Linked DNA regions of Homo sapiens: region 2 is linked to region 1. The links are contacts of gene promoters, found by promoter capture Hi-C in human tissues and cell types (Jung and others, 2019). All regions are on one chromosome and are shown on one strand. Each heading gives the region's core, a stretch centred on a gene start or on the middle of the fragment in contact. The rest is flanking DNA. Distances are from core to core; before and after follow the strand shown.

Evidence for each region. Contacts are between HindIII fragments. The study calls those that stand out against the background at their distance.
Region 2: a contact is called between the fragment with the promoter of UHRF2 here and the fragment with the promoter of GLDC in region 1, in 2 of the 25 tissues and cell types used here (adrenal gland and heart right ventricle).

The regions. Positions count from the first base shown.
Region 1 is chr9:6,644,479-6,651,097 of GRCh38, reverse strand. It overlaps GLDC (glycine decarboxylase), which reads left to right and starts at 5,369. Exons shown (of 25, transcript NM_000170.3): 1 at 5,369-5,853; 2 at 6,406-6,484. The coding sequence starts at 5,599. RefSeq lists enhancers at 2,264-2,819, 2,820-3,375, 4,362-4,461, 4,512-4,621, 5,602-6,159 and silencers at 5,292-5,541, 5,612-5,811, 5,852-5,921. The HindIII fragment of the contact is 11,104 bases long and covers 1-6,619 here.
Region 2 is chr9:6,409,706-6,416,324 of GRCh38, reverse strand. UHRF2 (ubiquitin like with PHD and ring finger domains 2) reads right to left here and starts at 3,126. Exons shown (of 16, transcript NM_152896.3): 1 at 2,682-3,126. The coding sequence starts at 2,834. RefSeq lists silencers at 2,309-2,738, 2,809-2,988, 3,269-3,408. The HindIII fragment of the contact is 6,487 bases long and covers 77-6,563 here.

The sequences.
Region 1 (6,619 bases), core at 4,120-6,619:
GTGTGCCACCGCGCCTGGATAATTTTTTTATTTTTTGGTAGAGATGGGGTTTCACCACGTTGGCCAGGTTGGTCTCGAACTCTTGACCTCAGGTGATCCACCCACCTTGGCCTCCCAAAGTGCTAGGATTACAGGTGTGAGCCACCGTGCCTGGCCCCTTTATTCATTTCAAGGGCTATGGTTCCCGAAATGTCACCAAGTTTGTTACATTACTGTCCACTTTCTTCATCCTCTTCTCTTTTTCTTTTCTTCTCTTTGCTTTTTTCTTCTTATTTTTAAGTCTTCTTTCTTTTAGACTTTACATAAGAATATTCTGATGAATGCCAGTTGTGGTGGCTCATGCCTGTAATCCCAGCACTTTGGGAGGCCGAGGCAGGCCGACCACAAGGTTAGGAGTTCGAGACCAGCCTGGCCAACATGGTGAAACTCCATCTCTACTAAAAATACAAACAGTAGCTGGGCATGGTGGCGGGTGCCTATAATCCCAGCTACTCGGGAGGCTGAGGCAAGAGAATTGTTTGAACCCGGGAGGCGGATGTTACAGTGAGCTGAGACTGCGCCATTGCACTCCAGCCTGGGCAGCAGAGTGAGACTCTGTCTCAAAAAAAAAAGAAAAGTATTCTGATGAGACTTCTGAATAAGAGGTGGAAGCTGGCTCAGGACAAAATATTTGTGCTAGAGCAGAACGGGCAGGGGAGGAACAAAAGTGGAGGCAGGCCAGGTGCGGTGGCTCACGCCTGTAATCCCAGCACTTTGGGAGGCTGAGACGGGCGGATCACCTGAAGTCAGGAGTTTGAGACCAGCCTGACCAACATGGAGAAACCCCGTCTCTACTAAAAATATGAAAAAATTAGCTGGGCGTGGTGACGCATGCCTGTAATCCCAGCTACTCGGGAGGCTGAGGCAGAAGAATCGCTTGAACCTGGGAGGCGGAGATCGGGACATTGCACTCCAGCCTGGGCAACAAGAGCAAAACTCAAAAAAAAAAGAAAAGGGGGAGGCAAAGGAAAAAACTCCCTGAAAGCTCATACAATGGCAGGGAGTGAATGTGTCTCTCAGGAATCTCTTGCCTTTTTCACCCAAACATTAAGCCCTCCTCAATCTGCTTTTGGCTTCCATTATAGCCTTTGTTTGGGTTTATTCAGGAAAACTAACTGTTTTGAAAAAGCACTATAACTGTGCTTCCTCTGGTCTCACACCACACTACAACAATCAACACAGAAGATTTCCATGATCTGGCTGGGCGTGGTGGCTCATGCCTGTAATCCCAACACTTTTGGAGGCCAGGGTGGGCGGATCACTTGAGGTCAGGAGTTTGAGACCAGCCTGGCCAACATGGGGAAACTCCATCTCTACTAAAAAAAAAAAACACAAAAATTAGTGCGTGTGGTGGCATATGCCTGTAGTCCCTGCTACTCTGGAGGCTGAGGCAGGAGAATTGCTTGAAACTGTGAGGTCGAGGTCACAGTGAGCTGAGATCGCACCACTACACTCCAGCCTGGGCAACAGACCAAGGCTCTGTCTCAATGGAAAAACAGAAAGAAGAAGATGACTTCCATGATCCCGAAATATATGGGGATTTCTCCCCACCAACAAGCAAGCAGTCGGTTCTGAGGCAGACACCAGCTGGGTGCACTCCACTTCAATTCTGACACTCTATCTAGGGATACCGCCAGATCCCAAGGGTTGAGGGCTCAGTCCCCAAGACATCAGTTGCAATTCTAGGCCTCCAGAACTTCTGACGGATCAGCTTGAAGCTGGGGTTTCCATGATCCCTTCTTTGGGTTTGATTAATTTGATAGAATAGCTCACAGAACTCAGGGAAACACTTATGTCTACTGATTTTTTATAAAGGATATTACAAGTAACACAGATGAAGAGATGCGCAGGGCGAGGTAGGTATGGGAGAAGGGGTGAGGACCTTCCATGGCCTCTCCCCATGTGCCACTTTGTGTGTATTCAGCTATCCAGAAGCTCTCTGAAACCTCTCCTCTTGGGTTTTTGTGTGTGTGTTATTTTTGTTTTTTTTTTGAGACCGAGTCTTCCTCTGTTGCCCAGGCTGGAGTGCAGTGGCATGATCTTGGCTCACTGCAACCTCCACCTCCCGGATTCAAGTGATTCTCCTGACTCAGCCTCTTGAGTAGCTGGGACTACAGGTGCCCGCCACCACGCCCGGCTAATTTTTTGTATTTTTAGTAGAGATGGGGTTTCACGGTGTTAGCCAGGATGGTCTCGATCTCCTGACCTTGTGATCCGCCCACCTTGGCCTCCCAAAGTGTTGGGATTACAGGCGTGAGCCACCGCGCCCGGCCAATTTTTGTATTTTTAGTAGAGATGGGATTTCACCCTGTTGGCCAGGCTGGTCTCAATCTCCTGACGTCAAGTGATCCGCCAGCCTTGGCCTCCCAAAGTGCTGGGATTACAGGCATGAGCCACCACGTCCGGCTCTTGGGTTTTTATAGAGGCTTTATTAGGAAGGCATGATTGATTAAGCATTGATCATTGACCCTCTGCCCTACTGAGAAGTTGAGGGTGGGGCTGAAAGTCTCAACTCCCATTATGTCTTTGTCTTTCCAGTGACCAGCCCTATTCTGAAGCTGTTAGTCACATTAGCATACAAAAAGGCAGGAGTCTGGAGATTCCCAAGACTTTAGGAGTTGCAGGCCAGGAAATGGGATGAATACCAGATATGTATTTCACAACATCACACAGACAAATAAACAAAAAACACTCAATGCATTTCAAGCAGAGGAGAATTAAATGTCAGGAATGGGTGCATACAAAACCACTGGAAGAACTGGAAGAGCAAAAACCAGGGAATACCAACGCTATCTTCAGGTCAACCACTGAAGCTCTAGTCTAGTACACAGAAATTCCTGCTGGGGAACTGCAGGACATTCCCATTGGTGGATACAGCTTCCCAGCTACCTCAAGATGGGGTGCTGGTAAGGAAGCATGTCATGTCTGCAGTGGTCCATGCATCTGTCTGCTGCAGTCAGAAAATAAGAAAACAGTTTTTACCTTTGTTCCATTTCCCAATTCTCTCTCTCTCTCTTTTTTTTTTTTTAGGCAGAGTCTTGCTCTATCACCCAGGTTGGAGTGCAGTGGTGCGCTCTCCGCTCACTGCAACCTCTGTTTCCCAGGTTCAAGTGATTCTCATGCCTTAGCCTCCTGAGTAGCTAGGACTACAAGCACGCCCACCAAACTTGGCTAAATTTTTTTTCATATTTGTAGTAGAGATTGAGTTTCGCCATCTTGGCCAAGCTGGTCTTGAACTCCTGTCCTCAAGTGACCTGCCCGCCTCGGCCTCCCAAAGTGCTGGGATTACAGGAGTGAGCCACCGCACCCGGCCCCAATTCTCATATACATATATGTGTGTATATATACATGTTTTTTTTTGGCAGAAGGCAAATAACATCCATCACCACGGAGCCAAAGGGATCTGGGAATTATTGTTCCCTGGCTTCCAGTCCCTCTGATACATAGAAACAACATAGACAGGAATAGGAATAAATGCAGATTACCTCCTCCCTCCAATCCTTCCCCACAACCCCCACCATCTGGCACTGAGGAGATCTCCCAACTTTTATGAAGGTTGTAATTTCAATTCCAAATGGCCGAAAAACTTTTCGGAGACATTCAGCCCAGCCGTCCTAGCTCACCACCCGCCTCCGTCTGCCATACAGACATTTTACCTACTGTTCTTTGTGGTGTATTTTCCTGCCCTCTTTTCCATCTCTACTTTCCTGCCTCTCTGGATAGTCTGTGCCTCCTGGGTACGGAGCCCAGAATCTGTTAAGGGTGATTGGAGGAGGAAACTTAGCAGATAAGCAAGAAAGAGAACAGGTTTTATTTTCCCCTAGTCTAAGTACAAGTAATGTTCTGATTACTTCTGTCCTCTCTTCCCCATATTAGAACAACTGGAATTTTAAAAGTTCATTCTCTTGCTAAAACTGTCATGAGACAGCTGGAGATGGTACATTTACAAAAAATCCAGTTCTAGATGGCTAACTTTCAAAGTAAGACGACAGTGAACAATGTCTATCTTAATATCCTTTGTACTTTTGCTGGGCGCAGTGGCTCACGCCTGTAATGACGGATCACGAGGTCAGGAGATCGAGACCATCCTGCCTAAAACGGTGAAACCCCGTCTCTACTAAAAATAAAAATAAAAAATGGCCGGCCGTGGTGGCACGTGCCTGTAGTCCCAGCTACTCAGGAGCCTGAGGCAGGACAATCGCTTGAACCCGGGAGGTGGAGGTTGCAGTGAGCCAAGATCGCGCCACTGCACTCCAGCCAGGGCGACAGAGCGAGATTCCGTCTCAAAAACAACAACAAAATATCCTTTGTAGTTTTACACACACACGTATATGTATATACAGTACATATATTTAAAAAAACATATACACACACACACACAGTTCTTTTTTTTTTTTTTTTCCTGAGTCTCGTTCTGTGGCCCACGCTGGAGTGCAGTGGTGCGATCACATCTCACTGCAGCCTGAAACTCCCTGACTCAAGCAATCCTCCCACCTCAGCCTCCAGAGTAGCTGGGACTTCAGAAGCACGCAACCACGCCCCACTAATTTTTGTATTTTTTGTAGAGACAGGGTTTCACAATGCTGCCCAAGCTGGTCTCGAACTCCTGGGCTCAAGCTATCCTACCGCGTCGGTTTCCGAAAGTGTTGCGATTACAGGCGTGAGCCATAGCGTTACATGTGGTGGGGGGGAAGAGAGAGAAAGAGAGAGAGTGAGAAGAAGGAGGAGGAGGAGGAGGAGGAGAAAGAAGGAAGAAAGAAAAGAAAAGAAATATAGAGAGGGTGTTCAAATCTACTGTTCAAGTGCTTTCCATGTACATATAATCTCTTTTTAAAATCCCATCCAGCTCTGTTGAGATGAGAAAACTGAAGCTCTGAGAGGTTGAGTAACTTTATCACGCTCCCGCAAAGATAAAAGAACCGCCATCTGCCCATATTAATTTCCCTGAGATGAAATGTGACAGAGAAAGATACCTCAAAATTAAGGAAATGGAGAGCTTCGAGAATCATCTTCCATCTCCGCCGAGTCCCCCAGGAACTTGGCCCGGAGTCTTTGGGCTGTCCCACCTGATCTTGCCCCAGTGCGGCTCCACACCCTGGCGGGCGGCGTACGGAGCGTCCCGGCCCCCGGCACCAGCCAGCGTCGGAGTGGGTAGGACTGGAGATGGCAGCCTCCGGTCCAGGGGAAGCGGGACTCCACGGAAGGGCTGGGAAGAGGGTAGGAAGAGGGGGCGGGGGCGGGAACTGTTCCGCCCCCTCCCCCTCTGTCTACTTTCATTGGCCAAGGGCTTCCTGGCCCCAACCCACCTCCCGCCTCCAGGGCGCCGCTTAAAGTGTGCGGAGCAGGTGCCTTGGGTGGAGCCACAACTTTGCGCGAGTGTCTTGGTTGAGCGCAGCGCCCATTCATTGCCCGCGAGCGTCCATCCATCTGTCCGGCCGACTGTCCAGCGAAAGGGGCTCCAGGCCGGGCGCAGCCGCCACCCGGGGGACCGAGGCCAGGAGAGGGGCCAAGAGCGCGGCTGACCCTTGCGGGCCGGGGCAGGGGACGGTGGCCGCGGCCATGCAGTCCTGTGCCAGGGCGTGGGGGCTGCGCCTGGGCCGCGGGGTCGGGGGCGGCCGCCGCCTGGCTGGGGGATCGGGGCCGTGCTGGGCGCCGCGGAGCCGGGACAGCAGCAGTGGCGGCGGGGACAGCGCCGCGGCTGGGGCCTCGCGCCTCCTGGAGCGCCTTCTGCCCAGACACGACGACTTCGCTCGGAGGCACATCGGCCCTGGGGACAAAGACCAGAGAGAGATGCTGCAGACCTTGGGGCTGGCGGTAAGGACCTCCACCCGGCCCTCCGCGGCCTCCCCTCCGCCCTGCCCGGGCTCTGCCTGCGCGGCCTCCCGGCTCCTACCCTGAGCTCTGCTGCGCTCCGCGTGGTCCCCGCACCCTGGGTCCCGGGCCGTGGCGTGGAAGCAAATTCGTGCCTTTGGTCCTCGTGCCTTCTTACTTCTTAACAGCTTACTTTCTCCTGCACCCAGTCTTCGTGCCTCAAAAGTGTACATTTTTAAACCACCCCCAGCCCAAGTGGCCCTGTGGATGGACCTAAACTTTGCAAGAGGAGGAAGACCCCCTGATTAAGAGTGGGCTTACCGGTTAGCTCCGGTTGCAACTGAAATCCAACCCCGAGTGGCGGAATCTCCACCCCACTTCACGATTTTCTTTCCTCCAAATCATTCTGGCTTGCTCAGAGTTTTCCTTTTCTTTTAAAAAGAACCCTAATTAGGCGATTTCAATGAGGTTCCCACAAGGCTTTGTAGTCGCAAAACACAGAGGTGACTCTTTTAACTCAGAGGCACTTTCCTCTGCCTTGCGTTTTAATTTTAGAGCATTGATGAATTGATCGAGAAGACGGTCCCTGCCAACATCCGTTTGAAAAGACCCTTGAAAATGGAAGACCCTGTTTGTAAGTGGCCGGGAGGGCTCCCTTGGACTTAGATTATTCTGGCCTATTTGTCTTTTGTGGTTCCCTGAAAATCGAGCTCTGGGGTAAGGATTGCTCAGGACTGGGAATGTGTGGATTAAAATAAAACAGTGGCGG
Region 2 (6,619 bases), core at 1,877-4,376, 230 kb after region 1:
AAGCCGAGGTGGGCGCATCACCTGAGGTCCTGTCCTAGATAGAGACCATCGTGTCCAAAATGGTGAAACCTCGTCTCTACTAAAATACAAAAAATTTGCCGGGAGTGGTGGCGCACGCCTGTAGTCCCAGCTACTTGGGAGACTGCGGCAGGGGAATCGCTTGAACCCGGGAGGCAGAGGTTGTAGTAAGCCGAGATCGCGCCACTCCAGCCTGGCGACAGGGCAAGACTCCGGCTTAAAAAAAAAACAAAAACAACAACAAAAAAAGTGGAGTCAATTAACACTGCCTTCTCCAACTTCACCTACATACAGATCACCTGGAGATCTTGTTAAAATACAGATTCTGCTTCAGTAGGTCAGCTTCAGTAGGTCTGGCGTGAGGATTTCAGGTAAAGCTAATGCTGCTGGTCCTGAGAATCCAGGGACCATACTTTGAATAGTAAGAGACTAGTGGGAGACTATCTATCAACATTCATTTTCTAAACTCTGGTGTTATCAGAATCTCCCGTGGGGTCTTGTTAAATTCAACTACTTGCAGTTCTGGGGTGAGCTGAACATCTATAATAAATATCCACAAGCGATTCTGATACATACCAAAGATTAAAAGCTGGAGCCTAACATACGAATGGAGTATGGGGGGCGGGTACCACTTAAATAAAAATAAATGTATTGTCTACAATTTATGACATTTTTCACTACGTGGCAGTAAAGTATTTTGAAGTAGGGGTACCTTTTTCCAATGAGGACATGGTATTTTACAGGACGGGGACTCTCTGTGATGCCATTCCAGTAGTTACCTGCTACAGGCTGGCTACCTCATCTGTGGAGCTCCAGAGACCACGAAAGATAACACTCATTGCCATAGCTACTTGTCAGCGCATAAGAAAGTGAACACACAGCTGGTACCAATGACCTTCCTTTTCTGTTTCCAAGTTAATGGCTGGCACCAAAGGTCTATTCCTCTACCCTACTGGTTTATCACTGGGCTGAAGAAACCCAAGTAGTGAATTACCCACTAGGACCCTGGAAGAGGAAGTACAACGGTTATCCTCAGTTTTCCCTGGAATCTGGAATGAGCTTCCTAGTTTACTGAAAGTCTACTTTGTTGCCTTGAATTTAACCCAATCCCATATGTGATAATTATTTTAGCATATTTGATAATAAAGATTTTAGGAGTGTTGCCCAAGAACATCCTTCATTTCTATCTCTGGTGCTGAAATCACCAGTGTCCTAGGAATTCATGTACTATTTGTCCCCAGCTAGAAAATAAAATGCATCAAACGATTACATGCTTTTTCACTTGTGATCAAAAGGAAACGGTATCAGCCACTTGAGGCACAGCAAAGCAAATCTATGTAGTATTTAACAAGTGTACAATTATTTCAAAAGCAAAGCTTACAACTAAATACCTGTTTTTACAAGTCAAACACTAAGAAGTCAGTACAAAACTGGCTGCAAACACAAATCAAAGGTGCTATAACATTATTTTAAAGAGAGAAGGAAAGGGGAAAAAAAAGCTCTCTCCTTCCCAAAGTGTAATTTGTTACTATGAAATTTCTGGACAGTCTTCGAAGACTAAGCCTGTGAAGGGGAGGAAAATATTCCTTTTAAGTAGTTTGCAACTGTAGGCTACTTCTACCAAATCAAAGAGCTACACTTATTTAAAACCACAGGATTGGAGCCAAACTGTGGTCTATCAACTCAGGATGCCAACTTTTTAGTGTATTAACAACAACATGAAGACAAAGAAAAATACGATGGGTCTGAGTGGCTAGGGATATAGATTGTAAGAGACTTGTGGAATAGGAAAAAAACTTAGACTGGCCAGACCATAAAAATACCAGAGATGCCCACAGACAGCCTTCAAGTATGCACCGCTGGCTATGCTGCAGTGCTATGCTTAAAGCGTGAACGACATGAGTATTAGAAGGCGAGAAGTAAGAAAAGCAAACAGTCTTACACTCCTTTTCACTTCGGGAATAAAACTCTTGGCTTATATAGGGCATTCGTAAACCCGGCCCCCGGTTAAACCGACAGTTTCTTCATGCCCAGGTCTCTAACCTCCCTCGAGACATTCCAAACCTAGGAAAGGCGGCGAGGGAGAGGGACCAGAAGTTCTGGAAACCCTTCGAATCTTCAGTTTGCGCGAATCCTACCACAGTCAGGAAGCAGAGTTAGGGTTCTTATTCTTGAGAGCTCAATGCCCGAGTTTCCCCTGTTTGAGAGCCGAAGACGCGGAAGAGCCGCGGAAGCCAGGCGAACGCTCAGCCGGGTTAGCCAGCTCTCCGGGTCTCCCGCGCGGTGGCATGGCCGCCAGAGCCCTCTGCCCTCCCCGCCCTCTGGGGGCCCCAGGCCCCGCCGAGCGCGGGAAGCGAGGGACCTGGGCACCCAGTGCCTACGGCCGCTGTCCTACCAAATACAAACGGCGAGATATTTGCGCTCCGGACGCCCTCACTTCTGACCCCGCGCGGCGCACCTCCAGTTGGGGCTGGCAGGGACCCACTCCCCACCATTCGGCGGGACTGGGCCCCGCACCCCGCGCCTCGCGGGGGCTGCCCACCCGCAGCGGAGCCAGGTGAGCCCTGCGCGCGCGGCGCACAGAGCCCTCGGACCGGTGCGTCCAGAGGAGCCCAGCTGTTCCGGCCCCCAGCCTCGCTAGGGGCGCGGCGGGCGCGCCTCACCTGCTTGCCCCGGTAGAAGAGGCGCTGGCATTCGGGCCGCACGTCGAACAGCGCCCACACCCGCTCGCGCAGCTCCTCAATCGTGGCTTTGCGAGACACGTCCTCAATGGTGCACGTCTTGGAGCCATCAATGGTGCGAACCTGTATCCACATCTTGGCGCCTAGAGAGGAACCGGTCCCCTTTGTCTCCCCCTGAGCTCTGGGCGCCGCGCCCCGCCCGGCCCGCGCCGCTTTCCCTGCGGCTCGGGCCCTCAGCGGCAGGCGGGCGAGCGCGCCCACCGGACCGACCGGACGCCGGGCCCGACAGGCGGCGACGACTCTCAGCGCGCGCGCCCGACTAGCCGACTTGAGGAGAGACGACCGGAACCACTCTGAGGCGCTGCCGCAGACACCGCCTCAAAGATAGGAAGAGGCCATGTCTGCGCCGCGCAGAGTGTTTACTTATAGAGCTGGAGCTCCCACATGGAGGTCACGGCGCCAAGCCGGATCTCGCGAGATCCACGCCGGGCTCCGCCTTAAAGAGGAAGCGGCCCGGGAGAGGGTTACAGACCCGAGGGAACGAAAATGGGCAGGCGCGGAGAGGGCGGGTCGGAGGGGCGGGGCTACCAAAAGCCGTTACTTGCCCCACCGCCTGCACCTGGCCACTGGGCACGCCCTCTAGCCTTTGGGTTTCGGAAGATTGCGCGGCTACCACATCGGTTGCCGTTTTGAGGCCTCGTTTCAGAGCTGAGGGGGCGGGTGCCTCCTCAGGCTTAGCGGATATGGTTCTTTGGTCTCAAAAACACACCAAAAATAAGAAACCCTGGCGTGCACTTGTATAATCCTGGAAAGGGGGCGCGGGTGGGTGCGGCCTAAACTTCCGAGAAAGAACTGAAGGAAATGTGTGCGCTCCACCGCGCTCAACAGGAAAGCTCCCGCCACGCGGCCTGGCGGGTCGGGTCGCCCGGGAAAGGCCCCGGGGGCCCTCCTGCTTCGCGAACACGTTTCCCGCCTGGCCGCAATGCTACTTTCGCGCGGAAACCCACTTCCGAGGGTTTCCCGTCGCCTGGCGGAGGCGGCAGCTCCAGGCCTATCCTCAGGCCGCGGGTCCCGCTGGGATCGCCCTCTCTGGCTTGCAGCGCTCCCAGCCGGCCCTCCGGCCTTGGAGAAGTCGGGGCAGCTGCCCGAAAGGCCGCTCTCTAACTCCGGACATTTCCGTTCGTAGACTTTCCGCGTTAGGGGTGCCTTTGGCCTAAGGGATTGCGGGTTTGCGGGAAACAGTTTTAAATAATGCAGAGCTACGCGCCTCCGAAGAAAGAACTCCAAAGACCCTACTAGGATTAAACCCTCAGAAGTGGGCCCAACGCAGCACTACCTAACAGGGCTTCCCCCACCCCCCACCCCGCCTTCTTAATCCTTCCCTGCTACAGCTGGGGAGTCGGGGTGGGGGTGAGTGGGTTTATTTTATTTTATTTATTATGTATGTATGTATGTATGTATGTATGTATTTAGAGACGGAATCTCTCTCTGTCGCCCAGGCTGGAGTGCAGTGGCGCGATCTCGGCTCACTGCAAGCTCCGCCTCCCGGGTTCACGCCATTCTCCTGCCTCAGCCTCCCTGGGGTAGCTGGGACTACAGGCGCCCGCCACCGCGCCCGGCTAATAGTCTCGATCTCCTGACCTCGTGATCCACCCGCCTCGGCCTTCCAAAGTGCTGGGATTACAGGCGTGAGCCACCGCGCCCGGCCAAGTGGGTTTATTTTAAATGAAAATATGTCTTCTCAAGAAGGGAGAGAGGATATAAACGTAAACAAAACAAGACAACTTGGACTTCACATTTGCCAAAATCGGTAACTTAAATATTCACATAGGTGCTAATTATTCCCATAAAGGTACAGTACCATTTTTTTGTAATAAACTAATAAACAGCTAAAATAATTACAAGCACAGACAAATCCAGTAGTATATCATGAAAAAGAAGAGAAAGGCCGGGCGCAGTGGCTCAGGCCTGTAATCTCAGCGCTTTGGGAGGCCGAGGTGGGCGGATCACTTGAGGTCAGGAGTTCCAGACCAGCCTGGCCAACATGGTGAAACCCCATCTCTACTAAAAATATTAAAAAACTAGCTGAGCATGGTGGCAGTTGCCTGTAGTCCCAGCTACTCGGGAGGCTGAGGCAGGAGAATTGCTTGAACCCGGGAGGCGGAGGCTGCAGTGAGCTGAGATCACGCCACTGCACTACAGCCTGGGCGATAGAGTGAGACTCCATCTCAAAAAAAAAGAGAAAAAAAAGATGGCCCAACACAGAAGAGACAGAAAAAATTAACTGCACATACATATTTTGGGTTTCTGCCCCTGTGAAAATTTCAGTCACCTAGAACCTCTAAATATAATTCACTTGTCTACCCCTATTTTAATTAAAGCAAATATTGAGTATTTATTACATATGTAAATGAGATGATATTTAGGTTGGTGCAAAAGTCATTGGGGTTTTGCCATTTCTTTCGGTGGCAAAAACCACAATTACATTTGCACCAACCAAATCTACCTAAAGCACACTTACTACCTACCTCAATAAGGCGAAACTATTTATTATAAGGTTATGCTATTTACTATTATAACGTTATACTATGGCTTTGTGGAGTTACGTTAGGATTTTTTTTTTAGTTACCTCTCACAAAACAAATTACAATCTAGTTGAGATAAGATTTAACAAAAATAAAATATTAAAGAATAACTTAGTACTAAACACTGATGTTGGCGCAAACCATGATTACAGATGAGAGGAGAACTAGAATGATTAAGAAAAGGGGAACTAGAATGATCTGGAAGCTTAAAAATAACTGTACAACTTGACACGAGTTATGTGATACATTGTAGTAGGAGGCAGCATTTAAATGTTCAGTTCATGGATTGAGATAGACCGGAATTATAATCCCAGTTTTACTGCTTGCTTAAAAATGTGATCTTGTACAAATAACATCCTCAATTTCCTCAATGTAAAATGGTGCTTGAAATAACCTAATGATTGTAAAGTGGTTTGCATACTATCCCTTAGTAGTACACAATAAATTATTTTAGTACTGCTGTTATGGAGAAGATTTAGATAAACAGAGTATGCCCAAAGAGGAAAGAGTGCTTAAACAAAGACAAAAAAGTGTGCATTTTTTACAGGTCAGAAGAGACTGCAAATCAGAGAATGGTTGACTAAATAGAAAAGGGCAGTGTGTGAAAATTAACATTCAAAGCAGATGATTTTTGTGGGCCCCAGGGAAAAACTAAGATTTTTAAGGAGTAGATGGATGTAATTAAATATGCATTTGAAATAATAGCAAAAGGAATCTGGACAGATGCCTTAGGGAAAAAGTAAGGAAGAGGGACATGAGGGGAGAACTTATTGTCAGAAAGTTTACAGAGGAGGCAATTGTGTCAGTTTTGGTGAAATTAGTGGCGGTAAGTAGGAGAGGAGAGGATGTATTCCAGAGTATTCTAGAAAATTGAGCCTATAAAACTTGTAGGATTGTGGATATAAAGGATGAGGAAAATGGAATGTTGAGAACAGTTCCCAAGTTTCTAGCTTAGGAGATTTAAATTGATGGCTCGAGCAGATGGTGATGCTCTGAACTTGTAGAGGAGGCAAGTCGGGAAAATACAATGAGTTCCAAATGAGCTGTGTTGCATTTGAAATGCATCCAAAATATAGCATCTGTCTAGCTGGAGATGTCTAACTGACCACTGGAAATAGAAGTTTGACGTATTGAAGAGAAATAGGAAAGTTCTTAAAGAGGGACTTTTTAAGACCTCCTGTACACACTCTTATGAGATTTATCTTTCTTAATGTGATGGGGCTTTAATGGAGAACTGCAGGGGTGGGGAGGGGATAAGATGACTGTCTCAAAATTAGGTATCTACTGAGACTGTATAGGATTTGTGTATAGATCCCAAACAATCTATATTGTTAA